Regions from separate parts of the Homo sapiens genome. Here region 1 is linked to region 2. Evidence: promoter capture Hi-C in 16 types of primary human blood cells and fetal thymus (Javierre and others, 2016). All regions are on one chromosome and are shown on one strand. Each heading gives the region's core, a stretch centred on a gene start or on the middle of the fragment in contact. The rest is flanking DNA. Distances are from core to core; before and after follow the strand shown.

Region 1 (3,199 bases), core at 556-3,055, 740 kb after region 2:
ATCTTGGAGGAGTTTGTTGGTGGCTGATGTGATACCTCAGTTCTTCTCGGTTTAAAAATTTAAACAAGAGACATACAACAAAAGTGCAGCATGGAGTAATTTTTTTTTTATTGTTTCGAGACAGTCTTGCTCTTGTCGCTCAGGCTAGAGTGCAGTGGTGCTATCTCGGCTCACTGTAACCTCTGCCTCCCAGGTTCAAGCTATTCTCCTGCCTCAGCCTCCTGAGTAGCTGGGATTACAGGCACCCACCACCATGCCCACCTAATTTTTGTATTTTTGGTAGAGACGGGGTTTCACCATGTTGGCCAGGCTGGTCTCAAGCTCCTGACCTCATGTGATCTGCCCACCTTGGCCTCCTAAAACTAGGATTACAGGTGTGAGCCACCGCGCCCAGCCCCCTTGCTCAGCTTCTACTGGGTGTTCAATGATAGCTTAATGTCATTTGATTCTCAAATAAGCTTTTCCCCTAGTCTTTATCCTCCCTGCTTATACCTGAAAGGGCTTTTCTTCATGATGTTTCAAGTTTTCCTCTGTGTGTCTTTCCCCATCTTTTCTCCAACAATTTCTGGAGTAGTCCAATGAATTTGGGCTGCCAGGGTAGGTCCTAACATACATCTCTTCTGGAGATTTCTCTTTGGGAGACATTCGGGGGTCACACACCAGTAGCTTCAAGCATAGTGTTTTGGGCCAGGCATGGTGGCTCATGCCTGTAATCCCAGCATTTTGGGAGGCCAAGGCCAGTATGCACCTGTAGTCCCAGCTACTCGGACGCTGAGGCAAGAGAATCACTTGAACCTGGGAGGCAAAGACTCCAGTGAGCCGAGATCCAGCCATTGCACTCCAGCCTGGGCAACGAGAGCGAAACTCCATCACAAAAAAAAAAGTCTTTTGTTCTGCTGTCTATCTGTTGCCTTCAATACTACCTGGTATTTTGACATGACCCAGCATACATGCCGGACCAGGTTCTATGGGGGAATAGTGGCAGATCTGTCTCAATCACCATTAGCTGCCTGGTGGCCAAAATCGTGATGGGCGGAAACTTCTATTTTCTCTCTTTGTTACCCCTTCTCCCTGATTAGTTTCCCCCGTTCCCATCTCTCAAATGTCTTTGATCTTTACTGTGACTAATTAACTTCAATGTTCTTCTTATTCACATTTCAGGTGAACCCTCTGAATGTGAGTTGGTAAGTACCATCATGCACCTGTAACTTTTCTAGGACAGCTGTCACTGTTAGTAAGGCAGATAAATCAGGTGCTGATGGCATTGTTCCTTCTGGGATGGGATGAAAGCCAGTGATCTCGAGTCTAGGTAAGGTTGCTAGAGAAAATACCCAGTTGAGGCCGGGCCCGGTGGCTCACGCCTGTAATCCCAACACTTTGGGAGGCCGAGGCGGGCGGATCACAAGGTCAGGAGATCGAGACCATCCTGGCTAACACGGTGAAACCCCATCTGTACTAAAAATACAAAAAAAACTAGCTGGGCGTGGTGGCGGGCACCTGTAGTCCCAGCTACTCAAGAGGCTGAGGCAGGAGAATGGCGTGAACCCGGGAGGCGGAGCTTGCAGTGAGCCGAGATCGCACCATTGCACTTCAGCTTGGGGGACAGAGCGAGACTCCATCTCAAAAAACAAAACAACAACAAAAAAGTGTACTAACACAAGTAGCAGGAAGTACTGTGAAGCGAAAATACTCAAATGTGTAGGCAAGACAGTGAGAGGAGGTGATATTTATGGCTTATGATTTCAACTCTCTCCTTTTCTGCAGGTCACAAGTGTCCTGTGGATATAGGAGTCCTTTGCTGAAGTGAGAAACTGCATGTGTTGGGCAAGATGAACTTTTCTGTAATCACCTGCCCCAACGGTGGTACCAACCAAGGGCTTCTGCCTTACCTGATGGCCCTGGATCAGTATCAGCTGGAGGAATTCAAGCTTTGCTTGGAACCCCAGCAGCTGATGGACTTCTGGTCGGCCCCCCAGGGGCACTTCCCGCGTATCCCCTGGGCAAACTTGAGAGCTGCCGACCCTTTGAATCTGTCCTTTCTTTTGGATGAACACTTCCCAAAAGGTCAGGCATGGAAAGTGGTCCTCGGCATCTTCCAGACAATGAATCTGACCTCACTGTGTGAGAAAGTTAGAGCCGAGATGAAAGGTGAGAGTCCTCAAGAAGGAAGGCGGGAGGGCTGCTTGGTACTCCTGAGGCAAGGAGGTAGCCGCTGGGTTTTTGTGGGGTCATTCCACACTGCCGATCTCCCCCTACAAATCCTCCTTGATAATCTATGACAGTATGATGTTTAAAGGCATAAAGGCTATAAAGATTTAGTGCTCTAGCCTGGGAAGGAGTAGCAAAGGCAAGAAAGGGAATCGGAAGAGGCACATTCAGTTATGTTATAAGCCTTTTTCTTTCTTTCTTTCTTTCTTTTTTTTTTTTTTTTGAGCCTGAGTCTCCACTCTGTCGCCCAGGCTGGAGTGCAGTGGTGCGATCTGAGGTCACTGTAACCTCTGCCTCCCAGGTTGAAGCGATTCTCCTGCCTCAGCCTCCCAAGTAGCTGGGACTACAGGCGCCCGCCACCACACCCGGCTAATTTTTTTGTATTTTTAGTAGAGACGGGGTTTCACTGTGTTAGCCAGGATGGTCTCAATCTCCTGACCTCGTGATCTGCTCGCCTCGACCTCCCAAAGCACTGGGATTACAGGCGTGAGCCACCGCGCCCAGCCCAGGCTTCTTTTAAACATGCAAATTTGTCCCAGTGTGATTGTCGTACTGGGAACAATTTGAGTGCAGCACAGATTTCATGTTAGCTTATGCATGGTTTTGCCCAAGAGAAACACTAAGAAACCACAACAACCCCCGCCCTGCCCCCGCAACCCACCGACCCTGCACTCAGCCGAGCAGAGCCATGTAGGATTGTACACAATGCACACAGGCATGTACCTCAAACATCTACCCGCTTCCTCAGTACGAGCCTTGCCCATTCTACACTTTCTGTCTGATTTCAGATCATTGTTCTTTCACTTCACAAAAACTCACAAGCTGCGACACTTCCCATATTCACAAGCAAAGTTCATGTTTTACTCAGGGTAAAGTTTCATGCCACATCTTCTGTGGCATTGCAAGACCTGCTGAGGTGTTACAGGGCTGATTGTGGTGTTGTAGGATCGTGCAGTGTTTATTGTGGTAATAAAGTGTTTTGTAATTAATC
Region 2 (3,063 bases), core at 501-3,000:
GGCCCAGCAGATAGCTTCTCTCTGGGAAAGGTTGGATGCTGCCTTACATCCCCTTCTATCCCTCCTCCCATCCACACACACAGGCACCCACCCACACCAGGTCTGCTTGTTTCTCACATGTAGGGAGAGGGGGGGAGACCAACCCCTTTGTGTCTTTTGAAATACGAAGAAAAATGTGTGTTCAGGAGCATGACTCCAGTGCTGGGCTCTTGGGCCCAGTTCAGTCTGTCTTGTCTCAAATCTAGGCACTTTTGCTTCAATTTTATTTTTTTTAAGAAAACAAAAACAGAAATCTGCACTAATTTACCTGGTTCTTAGGAAAACTTTTTTTTATTTTTTACATTTTTTGGTGTCCGTTTGTATTGAATAATTTGCTACATTTGTAAAATGTAAGAGGTATATATAATATATGTATATTTCTAACGTAAAAACAATTTTTTTCTTTTCAAGATTTTTTCTTAAAAAGATGAGAGAAACATATTTTTTCAGGAAAAACAAACTTTAAAAAAAAAAGAGGAGAAATAAAACCTTTTCTCCCCTTTCCCCATCCTCTATCTATCCCTGTTTCCCAGGAACAAATCAAAAGGTGGATTATCTTCTGAAGAATGGAAACTGTTAGTCCAGAATGATGTCTTTTTCTCAATGCAGTGAGTTATAGATTCTCTAGTTTTCTCCCTAGGGATGGGAAGGGGGCATTGACGCAAGCCTGGAGAGGAGCCCGGGGAGCAGGGTCATGAAGTTTTTTCTTCAGTGAAGGAGGAATACAATCAAGGGTTTTGTATTCAGAATGTTGTGCAATATTTTGGAATAGGACATTGGTGTGTTTAGAGATTTTAGTTTAAAAACAAAACAAAAAGATTGATCAAATCTGTACAGTTTCTATTGTTCCAGATTTTTTAAAGTTTGTATTAAAAGCATGATACATAATAAAAATAAATAAATAAATAAAACTAAAAAGTAAAATGAAATTCTTCATCTATGTTAATGGATTTGCCACCTTCTTTGCCATAGACTGGAATGACATCAGCTACCTGAGACCAAAATAAAAGTGTGGGTTGCAAACCCTGGCACCTACCTTTTTAGATTCCGCAGCCTGCAGTAGGGACTTAGCCTGTCTGAACCTCAGCTTCCTTCTTTCTTCTTCTTTTTTTTTGAGACGAAGTCTCGCTCTGTCACCCAGGCTGGAGTGCAGTGGTGCGATCTCAGCTCACTGCAACCCTCGCCTCCCAGGTTCAAGCCATTCTCCCGCCTCAGCCTTCCAAGTAGCTGGAAGTGCATGCCACCATGCTCGGCTAATTTTTGTATTTTTAGTAGAGACGGGGGTTTCGCCATATTGGCCAGGCTGGTCTCGAACTCCTGACCTCAGGTGATCCACCCGCCTCGGCCTCCCTAAGCGCTGGGATGACAGGTGCCCGGACTCAAGTTCCTTCTTTCTAAGCCTGTGGGCTCGGCCTCATCCCCTGAGCAAGAAAAAAGTCCCACCCCTGAGTTACTGGAAGCGCCCACCGCCATGCACTGAGGCTGTAGTGGGCGGGGCTCGGGGCAGCAGCCCGGCGCTCCTCGGGCCCCCAGGGGTCAGCGCCCTGCGGACCTAGCGTGTGCAGACGCTTAGCCTTCTGGGAGTTGTAGTTTCGATGACCCAGGCTTTGCAAGCTTTAGTCGCGGTGCCGGCGAGCGCGCAGCGCCCCCTGGGAGTCGTAGTTCCTAAGAACCAGGCGGGCCCGATGCGCAGGCGCAGTCCACCCCGGCCTGGTGCGCGGGCTCCTCCGCAGCAGCAGAAGTCTTGACCTTAGCTCGTCTAAGGAAGGAGGCACCAGGGTCTGCGTTGGCCCAGGAGGACCCGAGACTGAGTAGAAGCGGAGCCGACTGCACCAGGCTAGGAGGGGGCCGGCCAGCGCGTTCGAAGGTGATACCGGGAGGCGAGAGCAACGGTGTGTAGTGTGCGCGTGTTCCTGCAGGTGTGTGACCGCGTGTGAGCCCGTCCCCGAGTGCCATTGTGTCTGCACCTGTTCACTTAGCGGTGTCAGCCCGTATAGGTGTGTGACTGCCTGTGAGCCCGTCCCTGAGTAACACAGCGTCTGCACCTGGTCACTCGACGGTACCAGCAGGTGCAGGTGTGTGACTGCCTGTGAGCCTGTCACTGCATCTGCACCTGCTTACTCGGCGGTGCCAGCCCGTCACTGTGTCTGTACCTGCTCACTTGGCGGTGCCAGGCCGTGCAGGTGTGTGACTGGCTGTGAGCCTGTCCCTGAGTGTCACAGCGTCTGCACCTGCTCACTCGACGGTACCAGCAGGTGCAGGTGTGTGACTGCCTGTGAGCCCGTCCCTGAGTGTCACAGCGTCTGCCCCTGCTCACTTGGCGGTGCCAGCCCATCACTGTGTCTGTACCTGCTCACTCGGCGGTGCCAGGCCTTGCAGGTGTGTGACTGCCTGTGAGCCCGTCCCCGAGTGTCACTGTGTCTGCACCTGCTCACTCAGTGGTGCCAGCCCAGGCAGGTGACTGCAGGTAAAGGCATGTAACACTTTATCGGTGTGTTATGTGCTCGTTCATGTGAAGCGGTGTCTGCATATCACAGCATGTCACATACACGTGTGGCTGCCTTTGGGCAAGTCTGAAAGTTCTCCTGGATGTGAGGTGTGTGACCCCACGTGTGCATGTCTGGGTGTGCCGCCGTGTAGGCTGGCTCGGCCCGTGTGCCTGCCAGCACAATGATGGGTGACCTGGCTGTGCGAGCCTGTAGAGTGCCGTGCTGTCTGAAGTGTGTGCATCTGCACATGATGGAGACGCTGCACATGTGGGCTTTGGCTATGCTGGAGCTCTATCCACCGAGTGTGACTGCACATGTGTCCAGCCATCCCCTGTGGGTGTGTCCCAGTAATGGCCGGCCTGTGTGGAGCAGGTGGCATGTGTGACCTTGTGCGTCTCTGTGCACCTCTTCACACAGGGAGCTACGTGTGGGGCTGGGTGTGTGTGTAGCTACGTGTGCCCGGGACCCTGTGTGCATGTGTGAGTGTGGCTGCAGGTGATGGCTTCCCACCTGCCTCCTTGCATGGGGGTTAGGA

The links. The method cuts DNA at HindIII sites, captures the fragments that hold promoters and counts their contacts. A CHiCAGO score of 5 or more calls a contact.
Region 1: the fragment with the promoter of NLRP13 here is called in contact with the fragment with the promoter of ZNF835 in region 2 in 3 of 17 cell types (endothelial precursors, activated CD4 T cells and M0 macrophages); the score reaches 5.8 in endothelial precursors.

What each region holds. Positions count from the first base shown.
Region 1 is chr19:55,930,942-55,934,140 of GRCh38, reverse strand. NLRP13 (NLR family pyrin domain containing 13) reads left to right here and starts at 1,805. Exons shown (of 11, transcript NM_176810.2): 1 at 1,805-2,148. The coding sequence starts at 1,830. The HindIII fragment of the contact is 1,470 bases long and covers 461-1,930 here.
Region 2 is chr19:56,670,444-56,673,506 of GRCh38, reverse strand. ZNF835 (zinc finger protein 835) reads left to right here and starts at 1,750. Exons shown (of 2, transcript NM_001005850.3): 1 at 1,750-1,931. It overlaps LOC105372473 (a long non-coding RNA gene), which reads right to left and starts at 1,528. Exons shown (of 4, transcript XR_936110.4): 1 at 1,076-1,528. The HindIII fragment of the contact is 4,177 bases long and covers 1,656-3,063 here.